Regions from separate parts of the Homo sapiens genome. Here regions 1, 2, 3, 5 and 6 are each linked to region 4. Evidence: promoter capture Hi-C in 16 types of primary human blood cells and fetal thymus (Javierre and others, 2016). All regions are on one chromosome and are shown on one strand. The core of a region is centred on a gene start or on the middle of the fragment in contact, and the rest is flanking DNA. Distances in the headings are between cores, read along the strand shown. Region 1 overlaps LINC01229 (long intergenic non-protein coding RNA 1229). Region 2 overlaps MAFTRR (MAF transcriptional regulator RNA). Region 3 has its middle 40 kb from the start of LINC01228. Region 4 holds the start of WWOX (WW domain containing oxidoreductase). Region 5 has its middle 23 kb from the start of LINC01228. Region 6 has its middle 320 kb from the start of MAF.

What was found. Contacts are between HindIII fragments. The CHiCAGO score rates a contact against its expected background, and 5 or more counts as called.
Region 1: a contact is called between a fragment that was not itself captured here and the fragment with the promoter of WWOX in region 4, in 3 of 17 cell types (fetal thymus, activated CD4 T cells and naive B cells). The highest score is 6.6, in fetal thymus.
Region 2: a fragment that was not itself captured here is called in contact with the fragment with the promoter of WWOX in region 4 in 6 of 17 cell types (fetal thymus, monocytes, non-activated CD4 T cells and 3 more); the score reaches 10.1 in fetal thymus.
Region 3: a contact is called between a fragment that was not itself captured here and the fragment with the promoter of WWOX in region 4, in 1 of 17 cell types (fetal thymus). The highest score is 5.1, in fetal thymus.
Region 5: a contact is called between a fragment that was not itself captured here and the fragment with the promoter of WWOX in region 4, in 1 of 17 cell types (fetal thymus). The highest score is 8.8, in fetal thymus.
Region 6: a contact is called between a fragment that was not itself captured here and the fragment with the promoter of WWOX in region 4, in 1 of 17 cell types (naive CD4 T cells). The highest score is 7.7, in naive CD4 T cells.

The regions. Positions count from the first base shown.
Region 1 is chr16:79,778,275-79,783,010 of GRCh38, reverse strand. The region is part of intron 1 of LINC01229 (long intergenic non-protein coding RNA 1229); the gene reads right to left. Among named protein-coding and RNA genes, the nearest start is that of MAFTRR, 10 kb to the right of the region's middle. The HindIII fragment of the contact is 4,722 bases long and covers 1-3,651 here.
Region 2 is chr16:79,760,456-79,765,305 of GRCh38, reverse strand. All of the region lies in intron 2 of MAFTRR (MAF transcriptional regulator RNA), which reads left to right. Among named protein-coding and RNA genes, the nearest start is that of LINC01229, 7.6 kb to the left of the region's middle. The HindIII fragment of the contact is 2,334 bases long and covers 1,739-4,072 here.
Region 3 is chr16:79,864,070-79,869,239 of GRCh38, reverse strand. No RefSeq gene overlaps it. Among named protein-coding and RNA genes, the nearest start is that of LINC01228, 40 kb to the right of the region's middle. The HindIII fragment of the contact is 3,032 bases long and covers 1,636-4,667 here.
Region 4 is chr16:78,098,404-78,103,289 of GRCh38, reverse strand. It overlaps WWOX (WW domain containing oxidoreductase), which reads right to left and starts at 3,636. Exons shown (of 9, transcript NM_016373.4): 1 at 3,405-3,636. The coding sequence starts at 3,511. RefSeq lists an enhancer at 2,903-3,402. The HindIII fragment of the contact is 3,217 bases long and covers 2,367-4,886 here.
Region 5 is chr16:79,847,545-79,852,303 of GRCh38, reverse strand. No RefSeq gene overlaps it. Among named protein-coding and RNA genes, the nearest start is that of LINC01228, 23 kb to the right of the region's middle. The HindIII fragment of the contact is 986 bases long and covers 2,577-3,562 here.
Region 6 is chr16:79,278,070-79,283,185 of GRCh38, reverse strand. It overlaps a transcript of MAF not described here. Among named protein-coding and RNA genes, the nearest start is that of MAF, 320 kb to the left of the region's middle. The HindIII fragment of the contact is 6,240 bases long and covers 214-5,116 here.

The sequences.
Region 1 (4,736 bases), core at 41-2,540, 1.7 Mb before region 4:
TAAAACCCCTGTTAACTAGCTCTGTTTAATGTTGATGCTACAGTGTTTTTGAGGATGAAATGAAGCAGGTTTGAAAAAATAAAAAGATATTTTTAGGGTTATTCTAAACCTTCTGATCTGAATAAAGTAATAGGAAGTAAGCACCTCATTCGAGCTCTGAAGATTTACAAGGATATGAGAAATTAAAGGCATTGGTGCAGATTGCTACTAATACTCGTTTTATGAGGAGGGATTTATCTTCTCACATTAGCAGCCCCCAAGGTTTCGATCTGTCTATATAATATGTACCTGCATTTGAACAATTGACAATTGACTTCATCTGTTCCTACTTTGCTAATTCAATCTGTGAAGAATAACTACTCTTGCAGGAATTTTAAAGATGAAAAACACATCCATTATATTATTGAATACAATTGATCTTTGAGTACCTGTGTATGGTAAGATATATGCATTTGATTCCTTTGTACAACTATCAGACAGTCTATATAGGCAGTCTCATTTATTAGGTAGAGGCAGAATGTGTCTGCTAAGGTATTTTCAACTAGATACTTAGCAGTACAAGACCAGTTATTGCTAACAGAAATAGGCAAAAAAAAAAAAAAAAAAAAAAAATGAAAAAAATCAATCTGATCTATCTTGAACTTTCATGTTTAAAGTCTCCATTTTCCATTTCAATGAGCATTTTTCTTTTATATATGTGTCATCAATAGTCATGGGCAAAATCCAAAAAGAGATGCATCAAAACAGAGTAACAGCAAATAAATAAATGCATCTCAGCTGCCTTCCAAGCAATATATTTCTCCCATCATTTGCTATAATTACTAGTATCTTAGATCAATACTGTGTTTTTTGACTTTGAAAACACATTTTCACTACAATCTCATTTTATTCTCCAGGACTTCTTCTAAGTCAGGCGTGGCTATCCCCATTTGGCTGATGAGGGAAGCACAGCAAAACTGAGGGGCTTACCAAGATTACATGGTAATTAGTGGCAAATGGAGGAACTAGGGCTGCTGCCTTAGAGCCTTGGTCCCCCTCCTGAGAAGGCAAGGAATGCTCTGTAGTCACACTGACTATCTAGGCCCAATTCTCTTATAGACTCAGAGGAGGATGGTTCATCTCAACCATACTATCCCCAGTGTCTCAATTCTCTTGATCCCAAGCACTTTTCTCAGAGGCAATATGGTGTCATGGTTAAAAGTGAAGTATCTGGATTCGAATCATATCTTCACTTTTCTTGGACATAAACTAGAGATAACAAAAGCACCTACCTCATAGTGTTGTTCTATACTATCTCCTGACTGGGCTTATGAGTTCTCTCCTGTTGACCAGTCTATACTGATTGGGCCACTATGAATACCCAGCATTCAGTAAATATTTGTTGAATGATTAAATGAGAAATAAACAGGATGAAAATGTCAACCGCCTGTCATATAGTCATAAATACTCTACAAATATTCGCTATTGCTAATAAAAGTCTTTGTAATAGATTATATCAGAAAGACGGAGCCTTAGTTTCTTTATCTCTAAAATGGGCTAAATAATATTGCTCTTTTAGGGTTGTCAGAACTATTTTAGAAAGATCTATACAGGGTGCCTGATATGGTATTTAGTCTTAGTGCTGCTGAGCTGTTATTATTACTGTTGGTGCTGGTGGTATTTAAACACTTTGGGATCCCTCTAAGATTTTACATATGTAAAGAAAGTGAAAGTGGAAAAGAAGCAATTCAAAAAGGCTATTAGTCATTGGGCAAAATTAAAAGAAAGAGGCATCAAAATAGAGTAGCTAGCAAATAAATAAATATATCTCAACTGCCTTCCAAGCAATATATTTGTCCCACCATTTGCTAAAATTATTAGTATCTTAAATTGATACTGTATTTTTTTGAGTTTCAAAATACATTTTCACTGCAGTCTCATTTTATTCTCCAGGACTTCAAAGCGTTCACCATATACCACATATTTAATGTACAGCACAATAACTAGTCTATGTGGAAAATACCTGTTTTGCAGGTTACAGAAGCTGAGGCTCAGCCCTGTGCAAGGTCATGGCCGATAGAACTTGGGTGCCATTGTGCTTTTCTCCAAAATCTTTGATTTTTTTGAACTATATGTCCCTCGACTAGTGCTCTTGCCCTTCCCCATACTGAAGCATATTCTTCTCTAGGAATTTAATGCAGAGGCAAACTTTGAGAGCAGAGGCCATGTGAGGCTATTGTAGTTGCTCCCCCATTGGTTTGCAGGTAAGGCAAGGACTAGCATCAAATATCTGACATACAGCAGAGGCACAGTAAATATCTGCTGGATGATTAATAAATTCCTCCTTATCTGGGAAGAAGATCAGAGGGGTAGAAGTCTCAGGGCCTCCTCACCTGCCTTGGGTATCAAGCAAACCCCAGAGGCTCCATGAGAACTCAAGACCACAGTGGATCTCTGTCATGCTATTGCTACTGCAAACACTTTTCAGGATATATTTCATATTTTCTCTCAATTTAGAACGAGAGATTTCTTTAGCAGCCCTACATTAATACCTTCCCTTCTGCTCTGCCCCACAGCTCCAGCATTCAACAGCCCCCAGTAGACCCCATTTGTAACACACGGCAAATTTAATGATACTTGCGAAATATGAACCACCTCCTCAACTCTTCTATTTTTTTTTTATGGTGACACAATTAGCCAGATGACGAAGCTCTTTAAAATGAAAGAAAACACTAAAAAAATATTGATTTTTCTACAAAGCCATAATATTAAAAGTATCATTCCAAACTGAAGTGGGGACTAATTTAGAGGCAATGCATAAATCTAAAACTATCTGAGTATGGTGACAATTTTTTTAAAAAGCCTTAAAAAATTACATATATGGAAACTTGTCTATCATTAAATTACTTGGTTTGGATTTCCACTAATAAAATATAAGGACTTGTTACTATATTAGGCAAGTCACTCCCATTATTAATTTGTTAGATAAATGGCTCCTCTATCTTGCACCTTTAAATGAAATGGAATTCACTAATCCTAATTGCTTTGCCTTCTACTGGAATTTTTTCCCATTAGTTCAGCATGTTTTTTTTTTCTTCTTCTTCTCTTTTCCACTTGAAGAGGGGAGCCTTCTTCAACTTAAAGCCTTAGGGTATACTTTATGGGTTTATTAATTATCAGGTATTCATCAAAGGGGTTAATTAAGCAATAACTTTCTATTGACTGCAGTATACAAAGAATTAAAGGCTTGAATTCACCTGCTGATTAAACACCTAGTGACCGTGCCTTCATGTTCCTCCCTGTGGTTGGGTGAAATAAAAATCTTTGACCAGTTCTGGTCATGGGTTGCAAGGCCACTCAGGAGGACAGTTAAAACCAGTTTGTATTTACAACTCACGCTACCTTGAGATTGCCCAGAAAGAGAAAGGACTTCTGCTTCTCAGGGTTTCCAAGGAGAAATTTTGTCCCTAGCATCTTTGGCAAGAATCATCATTTTTTTCCTGCAGCATGCTTTTCAGCAATAGAAGGTGAAGGATGATTTCCTTCCCCATCTCTGAGGAGTTTTATAAAATTAAAACAAGTCAACATAATAACCCCACAGGGGTGATAGTAGTTTACACACCAATCTTGGAATTTTTTGAGATCATTTCAAGTTCAAGGTACATCTAAGCTTCATGCCCAGTGGTTGCAATTCTCCAGATCAAACTAGTGACAGAGGCATATCATACTTTCAAGGAAGATGGGCTCTTTGAAGACTGACCAACAACTCATCAAACAAGGGAAGAAGGAGATGAGTGTTCACTCAGAAGTTTCCACAAATTCAGCTTTTAGGAGGGAATAAAATAAAGCAGCTTTAAAGTCATGGTCTTCGGATGTGCTAGGATGTTCTTCTGAGAAGAGAAAATAAAAGCACAGTTCATGAAAAACCCATTCAACAGATGCTTCTGATTCACGGCCAACCCTACCCCAAAATTATGTGGTGATAGGAAGAAACAGAAAACTGCGTCCTTGGGTCCCCGGTATCATCCTTTCCTACTCCTTCCTTTTCCAGAATAACTCAAATGTGATGGTACTTTATCCAGGAGGACCTACAGCATACAGTAGGGTGTTCACAAACATGGATATGGAATGATTTGCACTTGGATTTGAGCCACAGTTCTCCCATTTATTAACTGCGTGACCTTGGGCTGGTTATTAAGTTATCTGAGACTCACACACATACAAGCCCATTCATTCCACATAAAAATTTCATAAGGTAGATATTTCTCTAGTTTCCATATAATTGATGAGGAAATGGAAGAATAGGGCATTTAAGTGGATGATCCAAAGCCACTCAGCTATCTCAAAGGTTGAAATAAGATCAAATAAGACGCATGTAAAATCTTTGGCGCAGGACTGGTCCTACTAAGCACCTGATAAATGTCAGAGGTTGCTATTATTATTACATCACTCTTGTCAACTTAGCCATCTTTTTCTTAGCTAAATATACTCTAAAAGAAATAGGTACATACAGGGTAACCATATCTTTTTTTCTTAAAATGTAACAGAAATAAATCTATTAAGTTTTGCATGTAATTTTGACCTCACAATACACACATACGTACACACACACACACAAATGCACGCATACCCACACAACTAATCTTGCTCATAACTCTGTATTTTATAAAATGTGCAAAGCATTGCTTTTAATGGCAAAAAACTGCAATTACTTTTGCACCAACCTAATATCAAAAACACGTAGAGAATCCATTCTC
Region 2 (4,850 bases), core at 1,656-4,155, 1.7 Mb before region 4:
CAGGAGTGGATGAGGGCCTTCTCCTTGAGATAGGACAAACAGCTCTAAACCTGGAACAGATCCACATCCACAAAAGTCTCTGCTGTCCCTGCTACCATTTCCTCCAAGGGTTAAATCTCCCACATGATCAAGTGCAAAGGGGAACATCCACTTTCTGAGTAGGATTTGCACATGAAGAAAGAAGCAGCATCTCCAGGAAGTTGTTGTCAGGGCTGGAAGCGGGGGCTATGCTCAGAGCCCAACATCCACCCCATCTCTATAGTGTGGCACTGGCAATTAGGGAAGTTGTCTGTCATCCCCAAATCCCAGACTAGGAGGGGGGCAGTTAGATGTCACTGGAGGAGACAGAAGATGGATGGTCCTGGGAGGTTCCTCTGTCCTATCGATGCAGACACACCCGTCTCTCTGTCTCATTGCTTACATCACCTTCAATTTGACCAGATGGACATCATGGGAGGATTTTCGTCTGGATCAGGATTCTTAAAACACTAGCAAAAAGAGCTGGCTCTTGGGAGAAATGAGGATGGGGCTATTAGAAGTTGGGAGCTGGGGCCATTAGGAAGCAGCCAGGCTGTGTGGAGGCACAGGGGGATTTCTGCTCAATAATGGGAAATGTGAACACAGGTTAGTGCTGTGATTACAGCATCCTGGAGCGGGGGCCTGAGAGGCCAGGAATAGATTATGACTCACTCAAGCAAAACGTAGGGGAAGGGACTAAGGTTGCCCCTCCAGAATCTGAGAAAGGCACCCCTGTGGGAAGAGATATTCCACTCCAGGGTGTGGATGGGAAGGGTCATTTCAGAGCATCACACTGGAAAGTGGCACGTAAGTATTCGTGGACCTGGGAGAACTAGACCAGATTGGATCAGTTCAATGAAAGCACAGAACAGAACTCTTTAGAGAGCTTGTAAAAGCATCTACTAGCCCTGGAGTGGCAAGATCACTGAATTGTGGAGTTTTCACCCTGTTTCTGGGGGGTAATTTGGCAACATACATCAAGAGCCTGGGGGAACAGACTCAAAAACACAGATTTATTCCAAGAAAATGTTTAGATATACACATAAAGATTTATACGTAAGAAAGTACATCCGTGGGATATTTATGTGGGTGAAAAAATGACAAATAATCTAAATGTCCCACAACAGAGGAAATTACTTAATCAATTTCAGTGCCTTCCTACAATGGTACTTAGCAAACCTTTAAATATAAAATTATGTTTTCAAAGCAATGTTAATGACATGGAATAATGATTATGACATGCTAAGTAAAAAATGCAGCTTACCTTATGAAAGCGAATTGGATATAATCCCAATTTAATATAGGGAAAAAAAAACCCAAAAGGAAATAGGCCAAACTGTTAACAGTGTTTATCTGTATGTAGCAGAACTAGGGGTAATATTTTTAAACGGTGTTCAATGTTTTCTAAAGTATCTACATATTAATATAGATTGATAAGTATGTGTGCATAACTAATATATATATTAAATACACATTAGTTTTTCTCCGCTCCTTATCTTTCTTGCCCTGCTTATTCCTCTCCACACCAATGTTCACCACTTGACATACTATGTACTTAGTGGTTTATTTGCTATATTTCACTCTTTGCTCTTTTTGTCATCATAAAAATTAAATATTCTTAAAATATTTTAGAAGAATAATTGTAATTGCAGGAAGGCTAAGCTTTCCCCATTTTTATAACTATGACAAATCGAGACCAGGATACAGGATATATTAAGCTTATCCTTTGTCATGGGGGCTGCTTAATGACAGCCATTAGTTTCAGTCCCAAATGGGGAAGTAGAGTAAGAGGCTACCCCAGCAGTAGAAAGATAGGATCGATGACCCCAGAGTAGAAGCTCTGAACCCTGCGATTCCACTAGGAAAAAGACTAAGTCCTTAGGATATAAATTCCCAACGTAAGACCAGTAGGTACCAAGGGCTGACTGAGGCAATGAGAATTTAGTCAATTCATCCACAATGTCCAAGTTCTCCCCTGAATGACTGTTGCTCCAATCACAATCGACCCGTGACACGTTTTGCTTGAAGGCAGGAGTTTAGATGTTGCATGGTATACTGAAAAGGGTCAAATATATATGTTGATTTAGAATCCTGATTTCAGTACTTCTTAGCCATGTGACCTCACTGAAGGTATTTTAACTGCTGTCCTAATCCTTAGTTCCCTCACCTGCAAAGTAACACTAATCTCCCTAAGTTATTTTAAGTATGAAATGAGACTATAGATAAAAGTTCTCGCACAGGGCTGGGTATAGGGTCCTGCCCCAAATTCACCCTGGCCACTGTTCTGAAAGTCTAGTTTTCTAAGAACAAACCCAATCAGTAATAGCTTCATACAACACATATCAATCTCCACATTGGCTTAATCATGATTTAATGATTTCATAATCTCATTGCAGATTGTAATCAGGACATAACGGGATCTTTGAGCAGGGAATTCCTCTATTTCAGTGTGGTGTGGGGACCCCCAACATCCCGACTCCCAGCAGGGCTTGTTAAAATAGGGCACAGGTTAACAGTGAGGAGTTCCTGGCCTCACTGGACATGTGAGTCACAAGGTCTAGGGGTGAAACCAGAGAATCTACACTTTTAGAGGGTCACCAGGTCGTTCTTTTGCGCAATAGAATTTGAGATCCACTGCAACTAATGTTTCCAAGAACCGGTAGAGGTGCTCATGACCTTTTTTAGGTCAAGGCACAAACTTTGCATCCTTTCTCCTCTTCCAACCCGTAATTGTTTTTGTTAGGGTGATGTCTAAGAGAGTGGCCTTGCAGAAAGAATACAGTCATTTTCCATGTAGTATTTGCGATCCTTCGAAAGATTCTTGTTCAGTGGCAAAACTGTGACATGCTGAGCCTGGCCTTGCAGGGCTGTGGTTAGCCATACAGTAGTCCTGAAAGTCCAGGGTTCAACATGGGTTCATACAGGCTGTGCTTTGGTTTCAAGATTTGTACAAATGATCTCACTGAAATCAGAATCAAAGAAAGAAAAGATTTATCTTCATTTTCATAGCTCCCCACAAATTAATGTTTTTCTCTGTTTCACCATATTTCTTCCTTGCAGGCCTTGAATACTTAAGTTTTATAAATTCATAATCATTACACTGATATGCTTCTGAGATACGGGTCTTTTAATTTCATGATCAATATTCTTTCTGCTTTCCCTTTTCTGGTGTTCCTCCCACGCTATAGAATTTCCTTGTAATAATTAATTCTTAACCTTTATGAGACTTTGCAGTTCTCGCAGCATTTTCATGCCCATTATCTTATTAACAGAATAATTTATTTAGATAGCTTTGTTCCTTCTCATGAAAAGTATCTCAACAGAGATTCACCCAGCGAAGTGCTTAGAAGCATGAGCTCTGGAACCACAGACCCAAGTTTAATTCCTGCCATTTAATAACTGAGAGAATTCAGACAAGTAATGTAGCTTCCCAGAACCTGTTTCTCTTGTCTCTACCATGTAGGTAGATAATCACAGTACCCACCCAAAGTGTAGGATGAAACGAGATAATCACTTGTAAAATGCTTAGCGTGATGCCCAGCATAGAGTAAGGGTTCCATTAATGTCAATAATTATTGTCATTATCATTGTTATTAAAATATTAGATAAAGACTTTTAATGACTATAGGAAGTAAGAGGAAACTAACTTCATTTGACCGGATGTGACCCCCAAATCTAGCTTACACCAATCCAGTTTTCAGCCCAGAGTTCAGGAAAGAGAGGACAACATTTTAGGCAATGCCCATCACTGATTGTTTGTCTAAAGGAGAGATTATGATTCCATATTGTAGAAGTAACAGCTTCACCTGGGACAGAGAGATAACTTTTGAGTTTTTACATCAGACTTGGATATAGCTGGTTAAAATTAAATCCAAATTTTTCATAGCTTAGAAATGTTTGAAACCTGCTTTTCATAGTTTTCACATGGTTCTTTTTAGACTGGGTATGAGAATGAGGAGAGGGGGTTCTTATTGCCAAGTTTCTCATGGGGAAGCATGTTCTTGCCGGCCCCAGCAAACTTACTTGGTTCCAGGAGTTCAGGCCCAGGTAAGCTTTGGACAAACACCTGAGGCTCTGGGAGGCTTAATTGAGATGAGCCTGAACTTAAATGTTTTATGAGGTACGCCCATTGCTAATTTTCTTGGCCAAGTTTGAGTCTGTCTCACTCCTGCTAGCATCTGACAAACTCAAGTCTTCACCATGAAGCCTTGATTGATTTCACCTTACTGTTTCTTTGAGCACAGTAGACTGTGTGTCTGTGTGTGTCCTGGGCACCCAGCACTGAGACCTGCAGCCTCCTATCCTTTCAACCTGGGAGTCATTACTGCCTTTGTGCAACTTGTCTGGAAGTTCCAGAAAAGCCAGGCCTCATGTCTTCTATAGCAAGGTCCTCAAGGACAAGACCAAATTCTCTCTCAAATATAACAAGTCTGGTGAACAAGGGAACGTGAAATCCAAGCATCTTACCAAGCTTCCATGTGACTTGGGAGCAAAACAGCCTGTTTTATACAGGAAGAAAAAAATACCCCAGCTAGATAAAGCCCGTGGGGGTGATCTGAGAGAGAAGCCAATTACTCTACTGAGATTTGCCATCTCTTTTTGGTTTCAACAAGCTTCTCCCCACCTAAGTTCAGAGTCATCTGGAAAGCTTTTTCTCAGCTACCTCCAACCTTCAGACTGTATATCCCTCAGTTGATTTATTTTTTGTTTATATCAAGGATCACTCATACATATGCCGACAATATTATCAGAAAACTTACACCCAGAAAGCTTGAGTGGAACAATACGTATGGGTCCATGCAATTTTCAGAATGTTTTTCAGGCCAGCAGGA
Region 3 (5,170 bases), core at 1,902-4,401, 1.8 Mb before region 4:
AAGCCACAGAGTGCAACAAATGATTTTTATTCCTCCCTGTCTTTTTTCTCTTCTTCCTCCACTTCCTCACTTTCTTGCTTTCTTTTAAGGGATTTCACTCTCTAGGAGTTGGAGCCTATTCTCTTGACAGCCTCTGTCTGTGCTGCTTATCCAAGGCTAATCCAGTCCAGTTCTACAGACTGAGTAAGATAGAGAAACCTCATATACCCAGGCTCTGCCCTCAAGGTGTTTACAGTCTGGAAGAGACAGTCAAACCTACAACTAATTGTAGTAATGCAAAAGGGAGCCAAGCGCATTAAGTGCCACATTGTGGCTTAGGAACTAAATAAGTTGCTAACAGGCGGAGCAGACTGTTAAGACTGTTCCCACAAAAGGAGTAAGTGATAAAAGTTCATGCAGAAAAGCTCTGGTTATGCCAAATCCAAAGCTTCCTATTTGGGCACACTGAGTCTCTTCCACCAGTAGGAATTCCTCGAGACTGGGATCCCCAATGCCTGAAGGTCACTTTCTTTTCCCTCAAAAAGAGTGACATCTAACAAGAGCTTGCTGTTACTAGTGAATTCTCAGGACTTAGATAGAGGGTTCCTTGGCTCACTCAAGATGCCCTCCCATGAGAACATGGTTGGTTTGCAAAGGTAGGGAGAATTTTTAGTTGGTTGTACCAGACACTGGAAAGAAGAATGAAAGAGGTCATGTTTTGATTCAGCTATGGGAATTTTTACATATAAAATGAGCTTAACTCATATTTGCAAGTATGTGTATTTTGGATTACATAAGACAAAATTGTTCGAAATTACTTAAAGTCATCTCTTGGTCTTGAAAACCCCATTGCTGAGAGCAGGCGTATTTTTAAGACAGAGGAAAACATGAGATTCATTCATCTCATTAGTTTCCATTGAGCCATTTCAAACGACGTCTAGGAAACATATGTTGACAGCGTAGTGTCAGATCCACATAACAGTATCAGAGATAGGAAGGCCCCGCTATTTTGAGGTTGCCTTCTCCATTTTGTATTTTGTGTTTTTTTTTATGTTTTCCAAGTTCTCCAGGAGGAACTGGGACTCTATTGTCCTTATTTAACAATATTTTAAAAATAATACTGCTGTTTGTGTGTTTTCCTTTGTTTTTAAACTTTGAACCAATCCAAGATTCTTAAATAAAAAGATAAAGTCCTTGGTCTTTAACCAAGGACTTAATGTCCCCTTAAGGGTTGGAAATAGAGGCACGAAGGCTATATTATCCATTATGTTAGCTTAGCACTTACTATGCCCCAGGCATTAACCTCAAAACTTTACATGCTGTAGCTCAAAGAAATCCTCAAACTACAGTTTTGAGGTAAGTAGGTGCCAGGACTGTCCCCATGTTACAGAAGAGGAAATTGAATCTTCCAGATGTTAAGAGATACTTCCAAGTTCATAAACCTTGTGAATGGTGAACCTAGATTCAGTCCTACATTGACTGACTATCCCTCCCTTGGTAACTATCAGCTACAAGCATTCTACTACCAAGGCAGTTCAGCTCCTATCTCTTATTTCTACCTCTATGAAGTATGGTAAGCCCTGAGCATTGTCCTCTCTATACCTGAGAAAAGCGCTCTGCTGTCTCCAACCTCGTGTCAATTCAAGAGCTAAAGCTTCCATGAAAGTTCTCAGATCTCCTTCCTGATCTTCAAGTTAGAGAGATCTTCAAGATAGATTACATGTATAGGGTTTCTCCCTATCTTGGAAACAGATACGCCAGCCCTCCTCAAGCCTTCAGATGACCGCAGCTCCAGCCAACAGCTTGAGTGGATCTCTTGAGAGGTCCTGAGCTAGCAACATCCAGCTAAACTGAATTCCTTACCCTCAGAAACTGTGTGAGATAATACATGTTTGTTGTTTTAAACGGCCGTATTTGGAGTAGTTTGTTAATGAGCAATTGAAAACTAATACCCCATTCTATTCCTGGGATCTGATACCACAGAGCTGAACCTCTGACAATGAAAGGGTCACTATTGGAATAAACCAGGTTAAATAATGCATGTAGGGTTAAGCCATAGCTCTCTGAATTTGTTCAACTACGGTGTGACTTTGTCAGCGTGAGACACTCAATTCACACAGAATTATTTCCCCTCCCTCATTTATTTGTTCCCTACAGAAGAGAATGACTAATTATATGGGTATGAAGTTTAGAAAATTGGGGTTCAATTCCTTTGTTTGCTGTTTATTAGGAAGTCACTGGAAATTGATTTAACCTCTTTGAGATCTGATGCTTCAATATCAAATAGGGAGGGTAATAGTACCTTGTGGGGTTGTACAATTCCAGGGGCCACCTGGACGTCATAAGGATCCACTTAAATAATGCACATCAAACACTTAACACAGGGGCTGGCACCTAATAAGAACTCAAGTAATAGTACTATCATTATTATCAGTAATAAAAATTATCAAGTTTCCTGATACCAGTCAATAGAAAGTTTCTTTAATTCTAAAGGCTTGCCACCATTTAACATAATCCTGATAGACAATGTGTCATAACAGCTAAGTGTTCTAAAAATGTGTTCTACGCATGGATTTTCTGCATTAGAATTCTCTGAAGTGTTTATTGAAAATGCAGATTCCTAAAACGAATCTCAGAACCACAGAGTCAGAATCTTTGGAGTGAGAGTTGGGGAAGGAGCAGTGGAAATCTGCTTTTTTTAACAAGCTCGTGCAGCATTCTAGCGCTCAGAAAAGCTCCAAGAGCACTGTTGTAGAAGAGAGAAGATTCATCTCGAACTGAAGGGTCCAGGGTTCAAGTCTGATCTCTGACATTTACTAGTCAAAATAAATTAACCTTTCTAATTCTCAGTTTCTCATCTGTGAAGAGTAAGCATAAATCTGCCTTTCTTAGCTCAAAGAGCAATTATAAATATCAGCTGAGATAATAAAAACATTAACTGACTTGTATCTAGTGTGTACATAGTTGACATAGTTGCTATTCCTATTTTGTCTCATTGAAACTCATGACGGTTCTGTGAAGTCAGTCTTCCTCCCTGTTGAAGTTGAGAGCAGAGGTAGCAGAGGTTACATTACTTAGTTCAGGTCACACCATGACGGTTACTGCATAAAGCAAGGTCTTACGATACTAATTCAAGACGCATTTTTCATTCCCTAATGTTGACTAAAATCGAGGTGCCATGTCAATTTGCTGTTGCTGTGCATTTCTTTAACTGTGACTACTGCTTTGTTGTGTTACCTAGCCCAGAAGAAAGAGGCCAAGGGAGGGATTACGTTCTAATTGCCCAGATCACAATTATACATGCAAAGAGCAATAATTATTTTAATACAAAAACTGTGAGGTCATTGAAAATGCATTTCTTTAGCAATGACATTAGAGAAACTGTCAGTCTTGATGCGTCAAATAGTTCTAATTTGTGCACCATTAAACTAACATATCTTAAATTATGAAACTGATTACCTTTGTTCAGTTTTTCTGGGTCATTATTTTGTTTCTTCTTCATAGGGTTTATGCAAGGGAAAAACATTTGGAAAATTGTTTGTATCCCCTACATGCTCCGTGAATAAAGAAAAGAGCTTCAAATGGATGCTTTATATTTCTATTAGTAACATTATCTGCTACTATACTATGTGAATTGGCTGGATAGGTTTTCACTGAGTTTGGAAGGTAAGATTCTGAGATGGTTTTACTTAAACTATAGGATGTGGTGTACACGTCAAATAGATATTTGGGTGCTAAGGGTGTGGGCTCCAAGAAATAATCACACATCTTCCAGAGTAGCTAAACTGAGACCAAGGAGAAGCCTCTGTGACCAGGAAAAAGCAAGCCATATATATTCAATGCATTAAGCAGAGAAAACAAACCACTTTCAAATGTGAATACAGCCCTGAAGTCACAAAGTAACATACTGAACTGCCCGTGCTGATTTGAGATCCAGTTGATTCTCACATGGTAACTCTAGGCTGATAGTTCCAGGATGAGATCTATACTTAGCACAAGTGTCTTCGGTCAGATTCACGCAGGAGTAGACCTAGAGACAAGGATTCGAGTGCAAATGGCTTCTTTGGGATGTGTTCTCAGAGGCACTGGAAGGGAGATGGGCAAGTTTAATGCGGAAGGAAGCATGGAAGCTATACTAGGGTGCATGCATGGAAGTGTAGGATTTTTATGTGAGGAATTGTGGCTTAGTCATAATGGGATCTCTGTGACACTGAGTTGAACACACTTCAGAGTTACTGACCCAGGGAGCAAAGAAGCTGGAAGGTATTTATCCACCAACTCCCACCTATCATGGATGGTCCCAGGGTGTTAAGACACTGGCACGGCTGACATTCCCTGAAGTGGTCAGATAAGACTCTTGAGTGGAGAATGAGGAACGCTTGCAGTTAAATGCCCTTAGCTTCACTGGCTAGATGAAGAATTTCCTATAACCCAGAAGGCTGTGTCATGGCTAAGTTTTTGAGGGATAAGAACTATTATCAATTTGCTTAACTTGAATGATAATATCATTACTAGAGTAATGATCTCTACACTAGTAATGCAGCAATAGCCATTTATTGAGTGACTGCCATGTGATAGTTACCATAGTAGGTCCATTACATATCTCATTTAACCTACACAATCATCTCCTATCGAGGGCATTATCATTCACATTTAACAGATGGGGGTGGTGGGAGATTCGGAAAGCTTCAGTAACAGGCCTAGGATTACACAGTTGGAAAAGAAAGCCAGAATATGACCCTAGGCCTTTGAGCATAGGATACATCCTCTCCACATAGCAGGTTGTGCATATACATTTCTTTAATAGATGAATTGAATATCCATAAAGGGTTCTTTTTAACTTTTGACACTTCAAGTTGGTATCTTTGTTGACTTGCAGCTGTCTTGACCGTTTTCCAAACCTCACTTCTCACCTGCTTGTTTAACCTTCCTAGAAGGCTGAACTGTATTCTGTAATAAAATGCAGATACTTTTAGTCATAGATGAACACGTTTGTACCTTCTGTGTGTATATAAGGCCTCGGGAAATTGACACTGGAAATTTAGGGCCAGTCAAAGAGGCTCAGATACCCTATTACGGACTCTGTATGTAAACACAGTCCCCTGACTCTCTATGGCACCTTCCTTCCTTCAAGTTAAGCGAATGTGCTCCATTTAGCTTTATATAATATCTAGCTTTTTTCCTGTGCTGG
Region 4 (4,886 bases), core at 2,387-4,886:
CCGGAATTTAAAGTTAAATTAAATTAAAAAAAAAAAAAAAAAAAAAACAGCGGAGCCAGAGAGGCCAGCTTGAGATTTAAGACACTAGTCGGGAGGGCTGGAGGAAAGGCGTTTGGAAACCATGTATGCACCCGAGTCCCCTGGCCAGGGGCCACTCAGGAAGAAAGCAGATGGGAGAAAGGCCAGGCAGCAGGAAGGCAGGCGCAGGGGGCACGCAGGAGCAAGGGAGCCCCAGGGCCCTAGCGCCAGGCTCCAGGGCAAGCCTGCAGGGAAGCAGAAGCACCTCTGGGGCTGAGTGGCAAAGGAGGAGACGCCCCACAGAGCCAGAGGCAGAGGTGGGCTTAGGAAGCCGGAAGCGGGTCATGTGCATCTTTGTACTCTGGGGCCCAGTGCACCACCCACCCACCCACAGAAGCCTGCGGCTGACCCTCCCAAGGTGATTCATTTACTCATCCCACAGGGGCTCATCTTATGGCTTCTGGGTGCCAAGCACTGGGGACACTCAGATGAACAAGCTGCCCCATGACATCTGCAACCTGGGCAAGGGAGACAGGGCCAACAAGGAGGAGTACACAGCCAAGGCTAAGCACGAAGAAGCAGAGAAACAAGGTGACTAGTACAAGGTCGAGGGGACACCCACAGTTAAGAAGGTCTCTTGGGCAGTGACATGTAAGCTCAGCTCTGAAGGATGAGAAGGAGCCTTTCCCCAACAGATGTACAGGTGAGAGGAACAGCAAGTGCCCGCTCAGGAGCTTGCCTCCGTCCCTGCAAAGGCTACTGGAGCTCTGCTGCTGGAAATGTCCCTTTAATTCTCCAGAGCCAGAAATTCTTCCAGAATTCACAAGCTGAATGAATGCCACTCTCTGGCTCTGCCAACAGAGCCCAAGCTTCTCGGCAAGGCACAGAAATCCTTGAAATGGGTCCTCCCTTCCCTGCCTTAACCTTCACATTCCTGGACCCTCACAAAGATCACAGGCCCCTGGACAGGCCATGCAGGGGGTCTCTCCTCTCACTGTTCCCTCTACCTAGACTGCCCTCCTGCCCCACCCACCTCTACTTGAGCTCAAAACACCGCTCTGGGCTTGGCACAGTGCCTCAGGCCTGTGATTCCAGTGCTTCGGGAGGGAGGCTGGCTTGAGTTCAGGAGTTCAAACCAGCCTGGGCAACATGGTGAGACCCCATTTCTACAAAACATGTAATAATTAGCTGGGTGTGGAGGCACACACCTGTGGTCCCGGGTACTCAACAGGCTGATGCGGGAGGATCGCTTGAGCCCAGGAAGTGAAGGTTACTGTGAGGGTGCCACCATATTCCCTCACGACCCCCCCAACTACCTACACACACCTCATGCCAGACACACTACTTCCTGGTATACACACTGCGTGGGGACGCTCCTACACATGTCACTGTGCCCTAATAAGATTGGGTCCTAAGGATGACAACTGGCTCTTATTTGCCTCGGTATAACCAGTGCCAGCCAAAGGCCTGTCACATAATACCTGTGTGTGTCTTGAATGAACTCATCAGAACTTGGTTGTTTTTCCTCTACCTTGCCACCAAAGGCAGCAGTGGTTCACATCCTTGCATAGATTAGAATCACCTGGGAGGGAAGATTTTACAACCTACCAAGGGAGAGGGGAGGGGCCAAACCAATTAAATCAGAAATTCTGGGCTGACGCAGTGGCTCCTGTCTGTAATGCCAACACTTTGGGGGGCCGAGGTGGGCGGATCACTTGAGGCCAGGAGTTGGAGACCAGCCGGGCCAACAGCGCGAAATTAGCCAGGCCTGGTGGCGGGCGCCTGTAATCCCAGCTATTCGGGAGGCTGAGACACGAGAATCGCTTGAACTCGGCATGCAGAGGTTGCAGTGAACCGAGATCGCACCACGGCACTCCAGTTTGGGCGACGGAGCGAGACCCTGTCTTTAAAAAAAAAAAAAAAAAGGCCGGGAGCGGTAGCTCACGCCTGTAATCCCAGCACTTTGAGAGGCCGAGGCGGGAGGATCACGAGGTCAGGAGATCGAGACCATCCTGGCTAACACGGTGAAACCCCGTCTCTACTAAAAACACAAAAACTTAGCCGGGCGTGGTGGCGGGCGCCTGTAGTCCCAGCTACTCGGGAGGCTGAGGCAGGAGAATGGCGTGAACCCGGGAGGCGGAGGCTGCAGTGAGCCGAGATCGCGCCGCTGCACTCCAGCCTGGGCGACAGAGCAAGACTCCGTCTCAAAAGAAAAAAAAAAAAGAAAAACCCTCTGGAAGTGGGGCCCAGAAAAAGGCTCTTACAAAAAAAGTTTCCCAGATGCTGAAAATCAGATTTACATCCATGTTTCTCAAAACCAGGTGATATTCCACCTCACCTGGAAAGCTTAAAAAAAGAGACTCCCAAAGTTGAGAGTCGGCTACAGTAGGTTCTCTATGGAGACCCAAAACGTGTATTTAGGACATTTCCTAGGTGATTCTAAGGTGCCGATATAAGAGGCACTGTCGTATCTTAAGAGCAATCAAGGAACGACAGTTAAGGAACAGAGAGTACCTACTAGACACGGTGCTATGTGCTTTACGCACAGTGCCTGAACTGACCCTCGTATCAACCCATTTTACAGGTGAAAAAACCAAGATTAAACGTTATTTCAATGGCCCAAGGTCACACAGTTAAAGATGAAGGCTCTGCTGGGGTTTCCAAAACTTTCCCAGGAAATGATAGTGAAGCTATCTAGGACTGCTACTAAAAAATACTCCTGGCTAGGCGCAGTGGCTCACGCCTGTAATCTCAATTCTGGAGGCTGAGGCAGGTGGCCTGCTTGAGCCCAGTAGTTCGAGACCAGCCTGGGCAACATGGTGCGACCCTAGTCTCTACAAATACTTAAAAAATTAGTCGGGCATAGTAGTGCACGCTTGTAGTCCCAGCCACTCAAGAGGCTGAGATGAGAGGATTGTCTGAACCCAGTAGGTAGAGGCTACAGTGGGCTATGATGGCACCCCTGCACTCCAGCCTGGATGACTGAGCAATACCGGTCTGGACAAAACAAAACAAAACACAACAAAACTCCTATCCCTGCAACCCAGAGCCTGCAGGAGGGAGCTGAGCATGTGCGCTTTTTAAAACATCTTTATTTTTTGGCGGGGATGAGGCCGCTTTGCCCTCGCCGCGCCGCGCAGTGCTGCATCCTGAACAGCAGAGGGCGCGCCGGGAAGCCACCAGGTGACCCCCGCTGGACCCGAGGCCCACCAAGGGGGCCGGCCCCTACTGGGAACCCTGGACCCTTTTCCCTGAAGCTCCTTAACAGTTACTTTCACTTTGCACCGCACGCGCTGCGCTGGAGTGCGCGTCCTCCCCGCGCAGGTGGCGTCCGTGGGCTGTGCAGGGTCCCAGGTGCGTCCGCGGCCCCACTGCGGCCCCCTTACTTGGCGTAGTAAACCCAGCCGTCCTTGGTGGTTCTCTCCTCCCAGCCCGGAGGCAGCTCGTCCTCACTGTCCGTGTCGTCCAGCCCCGCGTAGCGCAGCGCTGCCATGGCTGACTGTGGAGGCACCTGGCCCCCCTATCGCCCGCTGCCGGGTCCACTCGCTCAGGAACTCACTCCCGCTCCAAACGAGACCCGCGCGCGTCGGGGCCCGACCGCTCACGCCTGCGCACTGCGCCCTCCAGGGGCCGCTCCGCCGACCACGAAGCTGAAATCCAGTCTCCGCAATATCGCGACGGCCGGCGTCAAAGGGGCAGGGCCTGGAGAGGAAGGCGGTGAAAGTGCCTAAGAGATCGCGCTGCCGCCGGGCTAGACAGCAAAGCCGGAGAGCGCTCCGAGGCGCTAGAGATAGAGCGGAGCCTTGTCAGCCTCCCCGCCGCAGGGAAGGGGCGTGCGCATCCAGTTTCGGGCCAGGACTCCGCCCGTTGCTGGGCGACCCGTAATCACTTCCGCGTTGTTCTGGCCAATCCTGCAGGAGCCCGGCAATTGGATATGGGAAATGTAGTCCAGGTGGCGCCTGACCAAAAAGCGGCGCCCGACTAAAAAGCGGCGCCCATGCTGTTGTCCTGGGCTTCTGTCTCTCCTTGCCTTGGGGTCTCGTGAAAGTCCGTGATCACAAACCTTCCAGGGCTTGCCAGCATTCGTGCTGATTCACAACCTTTGTTTTGCATATGAACACAATGTTAAAATATAACCTGGAGAACTTAAAACTGCTGATTCCTGATTTCCTGGTTTTAGAGAACTTTCTTTCAGCCAAAACACATAATAGAGACTGTGATAATAGAGACTGTTGTTTAATAGAGACTCATGATAATAGAGACTGATGATAATAGAGACTGATTGATAATAGAGACTGTTGATAATAGAGACTGATGTTTACGGAGCACTTAATGTGCGGTCCAGGCCAGAAATGCACAGACATCACATGTAGCTGACACCTTTGTGTAGTGGGCACAACTCAGACAGGGTAGCTAGGCCGGGCTCAGTGGCTCATGCCTGTAATCCAAACACATTAGGAGGCTGAGGCAGGAGGATCACTTGAGGCCAGGAGTTTGAGAACAGCCTGGGCAACATCGCAAGACCCCTGTCTTTACCAAAAATAATTATTTTTTTAGTTTGCCGGGCGTGGTAGTGCACATCGGTAGTCCCAGCTACTCATTGAGGCTGAAGGGGGAGGATCACTTGAGCCCAAGAAGTCGAGGCTGCAGTGAGCTATGATCGGGCCACTGCACTCCAGCATGGACGACAGAGAGAGCTGCTGTCTTTAAAAAACTGCCTCACCTTTAGAGAATTTCCTTTAGTAAGTCTGGAATAGGTCCAGAATCTGGAAAGAAAGGGAGGGAGGGAGGGAGGGAGGGAGGAAGGAAGGAAGGAAGGAAGGAAGGAAGGAAGGAAGGAAGGAAGGAAGGAAGGAAGGAAAATAAAA
Region 5 (4,759 bases), core at 1,820-4,319, 1.7 Mb before region 4:
AACATCACTCATCATAGGAGAAATGCAAATCAAAACTACAATGAGATACCATCTCAAGCCAGTCAGAATGGTAATTATTAAAAAGTCAGGAAACAATAGATGCTGGTGAGGCTGTGGAGAAAGAGGAATGCTTTTACACTGTTGGTGGAAATGAAAATTAGTTTAACCATTGTGGAAGACAGTAAGGTGATTTCTCAAGGATATAGAAGCAGAAATACCATTTGACCCAAAACCAAAGGAATATAAATCAACTACTATAAAGACACATGTACACATATGATTATTGCAGCACTATTTACAACAGCAAAGACATGGAACCAACCCAAGTGCCTATCAATGATAGACTAGATAAAGAAAATGTGGTACATGTACACCATGGAATACTATGCAGCCATAAAATGGAATGAGATCATGTTCTTTGCAGGGACGTGGGTGAAACTGAAAACCATCATCCTTAGCAAACTAACATATGGAAAGAAAACCAAATACCACATGTTCTCATTCATAAGTGGGAGTTGAACAATGAGAACATGGAAACAGACAGGGATACAACACACACCGGAGCTTGTTGGGAGGTAGGGGATGAGGGGAGGGAACTTAGAGGACAGGTCAATAGGTGCAGCAAACCACCATGGCACATGGATAACTATGTAACAAACCTGCATGTTCTGCACATGTATCCCTTTTCTTTTTAGAAGAAATAAAACAAAAATCCACAAACTAAGATAAATATAATTTTTATATTATATCCAAATATACAAGTCGTTCTGACATATTAATAAATAAAAGACACACTAAACAATGGGAGGAGGAAGAGGGAGTAGTTCAATGACAAATGAAATTCAAAGAATAGAAAACCCAAACATTGGATAAAAATATTCCCACCATTTTCCTTGTTGTCTTACAATGCCTTCTAGGACTTAACACCAAACACTGAGGTCTGTCTCTAGACTCGCTGCTGTTTCTGTGGTCTACTGCTGGTCTCTGCGACTTCATCACAATGTTTTGATACTCTAAACCTGTGCTGTCTGGTGATGGGTCACCACATGGGTCACAATGACATGTAGCTATTTAAGTTCAATTAAAGTAAAAATTAACTTCCTCAGTCAGTCTAGCTATATTTCAAGTGCTCAGTAGCCACATGTGACCCAAGGCTACCATATTAGAGTAGCATAGCTAGAGACCATCTCCATGATTGTAGAAAGCTCTGTTGGACAGCACTGCTTAAATGTATAAGTCTTAGTATCATTATAATAGAGCAAGTCTCCTTTCTTTCTTTCTCCTCTTTAAAATTGCTTGGGCTCTTTACTTTTCCAAGTAAATTTTAGAATAAGTAATCAGGGAAATGTAAATTAAAACAACAATAATATTCCACTCTATGGCAAGAAAAATGAATGCATTACATGCATCCAAATAGAGAGACCTGAACATAATGTAAATGCGTGAGAAGAGCAAGTCGCAAAGTGTGTGTGTGTGTGTGTGTGTGTGTGTGTGTAGGTGTGTAGGTGTGTAGGTGTAATGCCATGAAATAATTTAGATGAAACTTAAAAACACACCAAATAGCCATTCTATTTATTTTTCATGGATCATAATAACAGTTAATAAATATTAAGCATTTATTTTTTTCCAGGCTCTGCTCCAGACACTTTAAATGTATCAACATTTGATGATTGCACATACAGTTGATTTACTATCCCCTTTTTTATTTGACTGAGACAGAGCAAAGTTAAGCAACTTCTTCCAGGTTACTCAGCTAGTTGTTACAGAGTTGGAGCTGAGAGCCAGGCTGGCTTCCAAGTCTGTGCTCATAAACACGGTGCCATCCTGGATTCAGACCAAACGACACCAAACATGGAAAGGGATGTTTCTAGACGTGGAGAAAATAAAATAGAAATGGTCTTTGGGGCTTTACCTTCTATATAATATATTTTAGAGAGAGAAAGAGAAGAGGATCAGGGAGAGAGAGAAAGAATGGGATATCCAGCTACTCGGGAGGCTGAGGCAGGAGAATGGCGTGAACCCAGGAGGCGGAGCTTGCAGTGAGCCGAGATCGCGCCACTGCACTCCAGCCTGAGTGACACAGTGAGACTCCGTGTCAAAAAAAAAAAAAGAAAAAAAAAAAAAAAGAATGGTACATCCACAGAAAAGACAGGGGAAAATGTTAACATCGGTCAGATCAGATTGGCCAGTATATGGGGGTCTATCACTTTTTGTTTGAGTAAAACATAAAATACTTTTTAAATTAACAAGTTAAAAAACAAAGGTTATATTAATGGGTGGCATAAGGCTTCCCAGACTTGCTTTTGATCTGTAGTTTGCTAACTAGACTTCTATGTTGCCAAGCGTCACCACTCTCGCTTTGCAGAGTGAGATGTGGAAGTTGAAGGGTTTTTGAGGGGCAGCTGAGAGGGACACAGAACCAGGTGAAAGGAGAGACTGCAGACGAGGTGGTTGGGGTACACCAAAGGGAGGAAGCAGCAGCTGTAGGAGGAGTGGGGTCAAGGATGTTTACAAGAGACTTCCAGAAACCCTGTGGGGTTTGATGTAACCCCCTCTTCCGTTTCCCCAGGAAAGCTTCAGTCAAAGCTACACCACTTTCCATTTCTTCAGCTGTCAGATACGGTTTTCTTTTGGCACGTGGAGAAAAGTTGAGACTTGCCTCAGAGGGACCATGGCCTGGACAGCTGACCAAGTGGGTGCAGTCGTGCTCAGGGTCTATATCCACATAAAGTGACTCTTCTGGGTACCTAGCAGGCCTCTAATGTGGCATCACTGCATCCCACGGAGGTCTCTTCTCACCCGAGGCTTTCTGTCATCTGATGAGCTAGGTGCTCAGGTTTCATGCCCATGTCACTGCGCTCCAGTGGCTGCCAGGTAGCCTCTCCGCCCCAGCATCACCACAGAGAGGCTCTTTGGCTGTCGCCCTGATGCCCGCTCACGTGTGGGGCTTCTTGCACAATTGCTGTCCTGGGAGCAGACAAGTGGGAGTGGCAAGGTGGGGCCCACACGGGCAGGTCTGGGGCAGCTCAACCGTGTGAATGGCAGACAGCCGCCAGGCCTCCAGGAGCTGGGGAGCTGGGCTGCTGCAGGACCAGCGGGAAGGTGGGAAGGCAGGATAAGTTGGTGGTGAAAGGGCCTTTGGAGGGAGGTCCACACTGCATCCTCTGCCTACTGTGAGCAAAGGACCCAGCCCCAGCCTGCTGATTTATGGCTTCTCTTCTGTGAGCTCATCAGTGATTTTGGAGCAGGTTCATAAGAAGCAAATGCCTTGTAAAGGCACAGTCTAGCTCTGGCTCTGCCACAGCCTCTCCTGGGAGCGAAAGGAGGTTTCCCATTCCTGGGGCGTGGTTGGCCTGCACTCCCCTGCACACCAACAGCAGGCCTCACGCCACTTTGCAGAAGCCGGAGACAGAGCTGTGTGGCTGGGCTTCAACATGTGCCAACACGCTATTTACAAGGCGAGAAGCTCTGGAGGAAAATGATAAAATGTTGTTTTTTAGGATATTTTGCAATTACATTAAGCCCTGTGAGCCTCAGTGAAGAATGCAGCACTGTGAAAGCTTCCAGACCTTACCAGACAGGGATTTGGGGCCAGCTGAGAGGTGATACCACCTGTCATCATTTGTTCTTTCTTCTGCCTGGGCTACCTGCTCCCGGACACCTCTGTACCCTAGCTCGAAGCTTTGTCTCATATTTCAGGATCCGCGCAATAGGCAGGATCAGCTAACCTATAGAACACAGCCTCTGGGTTAGACGAAACTCAGTGAGGACTTGTCTTAGTTCAGGTCCTTGGTCCTTACATTTTCTGAGCTTCAATCTATTCATCAGAATGGAAGCCCTCCCTGCTTTGACGAGTTTCTAAAACTGGAAATAAGAGTATTTTCATGTAATTAGCCTTCCTCATTAAATCTGTTAAGGACAATCAAGGACATTAGTTAATTTCCAGTTCTTATAGTAGTCCACATATTGTAGAGTCAACCATGAATTGTTCCTATCAGTTTGTTTTATTTAGTTATGATTAATGAAATTATCGTAGATAGGCACATGTGTTTTTAAAGTCACTTCTATCTCAAAAAATAAATATATAAAGAAAGAGATGAACTACACACACACACACACACACACACACACACACACACACACATCAAGTAGTACTGTGGGAAAATAAATAGGCTCTAGACAGACTGACCTGGGTCCTACTAGTCTTTCTAACATATCTTGACTTTGTGATCTTGGGCAAGTTGATTAACCTCTCTGAATCTGCTTTTGTTTATTCTGGAGACAGTATGCACAGTGATTAAGGGCTTTGACTCTGGAAGCAGATGATCTAGGTCTGAATCTCAGATCCATTACACACTCACTTATTTGTACCTCCGTTTTCCTGGTTGTAAAATGGAAGTGAGACTAGTACTTATCCCACAGAGATGCTGTGAGGACCAAATGAGCAAATGAAAACTCACATGATATAAAGGGCTTAAATGGTTGCCTAACACATAGTTATTAAATGACTGCAACATGGGAATAATAATGGAATCTACTTTAGAGGGTTGCGGTGAGGATGAGATGAGACAATGCACGTGAAGTACACAGCTCAGAGCCTGACACCCAGGTGCTGGTTACAACGGGAGCTGTTGCGGCTGTTATTTTTCCTTCAGGGAAGGAAGCAGAGAAGTTGGACTATGCACAGGTCACACTGCACACTCCTGTGGTGTACTGAGATCCATTCACAATTCTACATCACCAGGATCTAGGGATATAG
Region 6 (5,116 bases), core at 2,084-4,583, 1.2 Mb before region 4:
TCATCCGTCCATCTATCCACTCACGCCATAAATATGTGAAGGACATTCACAATGCCTGGTACTGTGCTGGTTGCAGTTACCAGAGATACAAAGATGAATCAGAAACATTCCCTATTCCCCACCCTCAAGGAGCTCAGAATCTGGTACAATAGACCCTTGGCAGGTGCAGGTTTGACATTTGTGGTTTTGACTATTTGTGAGTAACCCAAAGCTTTATGACTTCCTAACTTGTCATTTTTGCTGCTTCATGGGTTTGAAACATGCCTTTGATGAAACTCATAAGCAAATAGGACCCTTTGGATTAATGAATGGGTTTAGCTGACAGCCCACAGTCCACCCTGAGACTAGCTTTGTAGTTCTGCACCCAAAATCATTCTCCTCAGGCGATAAAATACTGTTCAAGGGAGAATATTAAACCCCCAGATGAAACCACCTGCCAATGCTATTTATTAAACTAAAGAGAAAGTAAAGAGATCTACTTACAGTTTTGATTGGAGAGATCATATGACAAACTGATACTGAGTAATTTGAGAATTTGCACCTTCCTAATCTAAAAGGTCTTCTTTGGCTAAAGAGAGTTGAGTTCATTCTGTTACCGTAGCCTTTGGGGAAGCGGTGACTGTGGGGCCAGTTATAAGTATTCCTGGGACTCCAAGTTGCAGGACTTCTGTCACTTAAAGATTCAGATCACCTTAAAGATTCAGGCTCCCACTCTTTGGTGACACCATTAATATTTTCCTTTTAGAGGAGGGATACCCTAGTGCCCACATCACTGATGCTACATTAGTGGTTATTCTGGTTCTGCTGTTTTTATGATCACAAAGTTAAAAGAGAAATTGATCCACCAACCTCCTAACAGTTTTATAATCTCCTCTCCCAGGGAACTTGGGGTGGCTTCCTTAATGCCTGGGCCATGGATATTTACAAAATACCACTCCGAGTCTCCATTCCACTTTGAAACCACGGGTGTCCCCAGTTTAGACAGACTTTTGGCTTCCTAATTGGCATTTCTAGAACTCATGGCACTAGGCTAATTTTTGTATTTTTAGTAGAGACGGGGTTTCACCATCTTGTCCAGGCTGGTCTCGAACTCCTGACCTCGTGATCCAACAGCCTCGGCCTCCCATAGTGATGGTATTACAGGCATGAGCCACTGCACCCGGCCTTTTTTAACTCTTACCTTCAAGACCCAGACACCAGGACTCCTGTTGGATTGTTCCATATCAAACTATCCTGGGGTGAGATTGCAGATCAGTATCCTCATTGTGGTCCTTGCTAGCCACACACAGAAATGCAGGGTTCTACAATTAATACAGGAGTTTAGGGGAGAGTGTGTGCTGTAGGCGTAAAGGATTGTAATGGATTTTCCGATGAGCACTTTAGGAGGCTGAGGCAGGCAGATCACAAGGTCAAGAGATGGAGACCATCCTGGCCAACATGGTCAAACCCCGTCTCTACTAAAAAGACAAAAATTAGCTAGGCGTGGTGGTGCACCTGTAGTCCCAGCTACTGAGGAGGCTGAAGAAGGAGAATCGCTTGAACCTGGGAGGCGGAGGTTGCAGTGAGCCGAGATGGCGCCACTGCACTCCAGCCTGGCGACAGAGCAAGACTCCCTCTCAAAAAAAAAAAAAAAAAAAAAGTCTTCAAAGAGTGAGCTTTCTCAAGGTGCTTGAGATGGGATTTCATATACAAACAACTGAATTACAAACCTTTTTTCAGGAATACAGCTCACTTGCTTAAAGCAAGGCTCACCTTAAATATTTGGTATTAAGTACCCTATGGCTCTCTTTTTTATTTGTTATGACCTCTGACTTCTTTTATTAAACCATAGATTGTATTTTCTAACTCTTTTTAGAGGCTTTCTTTCATCTTTCACGATCATCCCCCTAGACTTTGGGATTAGCTGGAGCATTTACCTAATACCCTTTGCTCATTACCCTCCATGTCCTTTTTTTTTTTTTCATATTGAAACTATTGGTTAAATGTATGTGCAAAAACAAGAAAAGGTATGTGCACATCTTCCGTCCAACCTCCTATCTTCTACTTCTTCCCTCTGGTAGCCTCTGGATAATCATTCATCCTCTATTTGTCTTCGTCTCTTCTTCCTCTTCCTCTCTGCTCTTTTTCCTTCTGTCTCTTTTTCTCCCTGTCTCTTGCTGCTTTTTCACCTGCCTTTATCTTTGCTTCTTCCCCTCCCATTCTGATCTGGGAGACACTCCTTTCTCAGGGTCGGGGGTGGCAATCACTAGACTGCTTTGACAATGGATCAAGGAAGAGGGAAACTAAATCTTCAGAGTCAATTCATACTCAATAAGGAATCCGCATCAGAGTCCTTTAAAATGTTCCCACGCTGTCTTAGGTGCAGTTCCTGAGGAGTACAATGGGAGAGAGTGATTCCTGGTGAGCAGTGTAGTGACAGGGAAGCCAGGATAGGAGCTAGTAATGCAGGGGCTGGACAAGACAGTGGATGGAGATGTGGGTTCAGCTGAAGTCTAGCATCACCCTGAGCCCACAGGGGCCCTGGAGTGTGAATAGCACTGCAGCACCCCAGAGAGAAGAAATATCTATTTTAAGCCTTCCAGTTCTTGGTCCTTGCTTCAAGCAGCCCTAGGAAACTCAAAAGACACATATGCAAGTGATCCCTCATGGTGGAAGAATGAGTTTAGGTGGTGGCCCCCCAAGCTGGCCTGTGCATACAGGTTTTGTTGCAGAATCCCAGGGGTTCTAAAACTTTTAAATTTGAACCTGGCCTTCAAATAGTTGCGAACATGTATTTGCCAAAATAGGAGGATAGAGGTTATGTTTTAATAGTTTCTTAGTTGGATTTGCCCTTTTCAAAACTTAGACTGCAGCTGGACTCTTGATCCAGTCCCCACAAATGTTGAGGTGAGTCTGCCCCAGACCTCTCTTCTCCCGGCATTTACACAAAACTGGATTTATCAAAAAAGTCCCAATTATAGAGTGACTTCTGCTGCAAGCCCGGTTAACCAACACGTGCAACTGGCTTAACCTTTTCTGGATTTTCCTAAATGTAATTTTTTCCCTTCTTAAAGAGAGCTGAAAATCACTTCTGGTTAATAGGGCAGCTTATCGAGCTGATGGTCTTCCTGTTTCCTTACCTGCTGTGGCCTCACATCATCATCAGAAGAATCACTCTGCTTTGGAGCCTGTGACAGGGGCAGCAGAAACCATGCTTCACATCAAAGCATCGAGAACACTTCCATTGCCCACAAACTGTGTCCCGGGCAAGCCCCGTATTTATAACATTTTCCAAATCAGTGTAATTTAGATTGCCTTTTTATGAAGAATAGGCTGGACTTTCCCCAAATCATCTAGTGCTCTGCCAAAGCTCTGGGAGAGTTATTTTAAAAACAATAAGCAGGTTGTTAAAAAAATATATAAAAGAAAAAAAAAGAAGCAGCAGCAGCTCTGCTCGAATGAATCCCAGGCTTGGAGGTCAAAGTGTAAGAGAACCCCTGCGCGAGGCAACATATGCCATTAGGAGAGGAACTGGCCACGGTCCTTGCCCTCTGGGGGTTCACACTTTAGTACAGTCAGATCTGAGCCACTTGCAGGGGTGAGGGGTCAGTGCTTGAATGTCCCTCTCTCCAGCTTCGTCATCCTGCAGCCCAGGATCCACCTGCAGTGGGCATCTCTGTTCTGTCCTGGCCTGTGCTCCCCGCTTCAGCCTCTTCCCCAGGTCCCATTCCCCACAGCTACTCAGAAAGCAAGTCCATGGAGTGTGCGTTCATGGAACAGAATGAAACTCAGAGCCACTAACCTTTACGTGTCCCTTAATAGAAGTGAAACCTCCTTGTAACTTTCAGCCCCATTTTCTCTTCACCCTAGGCTGGTATTGCTGTCATTCCCACTTTCCAAAAGAGGACAGTGAAGCTCAAGGAGGTCACAGTGACCCAGCCAGAAACAATGGAGAGCTGACTAGGACCCCACATGCATGGATCGGGGTGAGAATGAGGGGGTGGAGAGGGAAGAAGCAGCATTCTACCATTTCCTATGTGCGTGACCTTAGAGAAGTCATCTGATTCCTGAAGCCACTGGTTCCTGTCTATAAAATGTTGATGACAGGGCTACCTCCGGAGCAGCTGGAGGTGAGAATTGAATGATAAAATATATTCAGAATCTTTAGCATATTCCCCCAGAAAATAGGAAGCATGCTGTATCCTGTATACATATATTTGAGGGGTATAGCAAGTTTCCAAATTCTGAATTCCTCCTCCTCCAGCCTACAACTTTTCCATGGCCCCATTCCCCAGGAACCTGGTACACCACCTACTTTCACATTAATAGACGTGTTCAGTAGGCTGTGCCTTTGCCCCGAAGATCCAGTGTCAGCAGAAGGGGCAGACACTTGGGGGCCAGCAGGCAGGAAGGCAGGGAGCCATCTCCTGTCCCCCTGTCAGGGCGGGTCCCTGTTTGGGTAGCTCGACAGGCTTCCTGACTACGCAAATCACACCGAGAGCAAGGCTTGGTTTCTGAAACTGCTAGTGCCTTCTACCCACGAAACCCCAAACCCGGCACTCAAGGAGGCTAGAAACAGCTCTTGCGCTTTCAGACACAGACACGGAAAAAGCAATACTTCAAGCAGGCATCTTCCTTCCAAAAGCTCACTTTGAAAGTCAAGGGCCTCTTCGTTCTGTACACAAGAGAGAAAATGGTTCTTAGGTGAGAGAACAAGTTGATGGAAAAGCAAGCCGGAGGATTTGCAGGAGGGAAAACAAAAATCTTGGGAAGAGACCTTGTTTGTTTCTTTTTCCTCTCTGTCCTGGCAAGTCACAGGGATTTCGCTTCCAGAAGAAAGATGGCATTGATTTTTAAACCTGTAGTTTTTAAGCATGGTATTTATTTTCATCCAAGTAATGGAAAAGTCAGGAACATGCAACTAAAGATTTTGCTAAAGATTCACTTTCCCCTTGAACGGTTGCCATCTAACCTGCCCTTTTTGGGCAAAGGATGGCTGTCAGCTGGTCTCCCATTTCCCGAGACTGTCTCTGAACTTGCAGGGGGCAGGTACCTGGACGACTCAATCTAGTCCTAATTAGACAGCTGTGTCCTGTTGAAAGGAAAGAAGCAAACTTGTATTCACTTAGTACAGTTT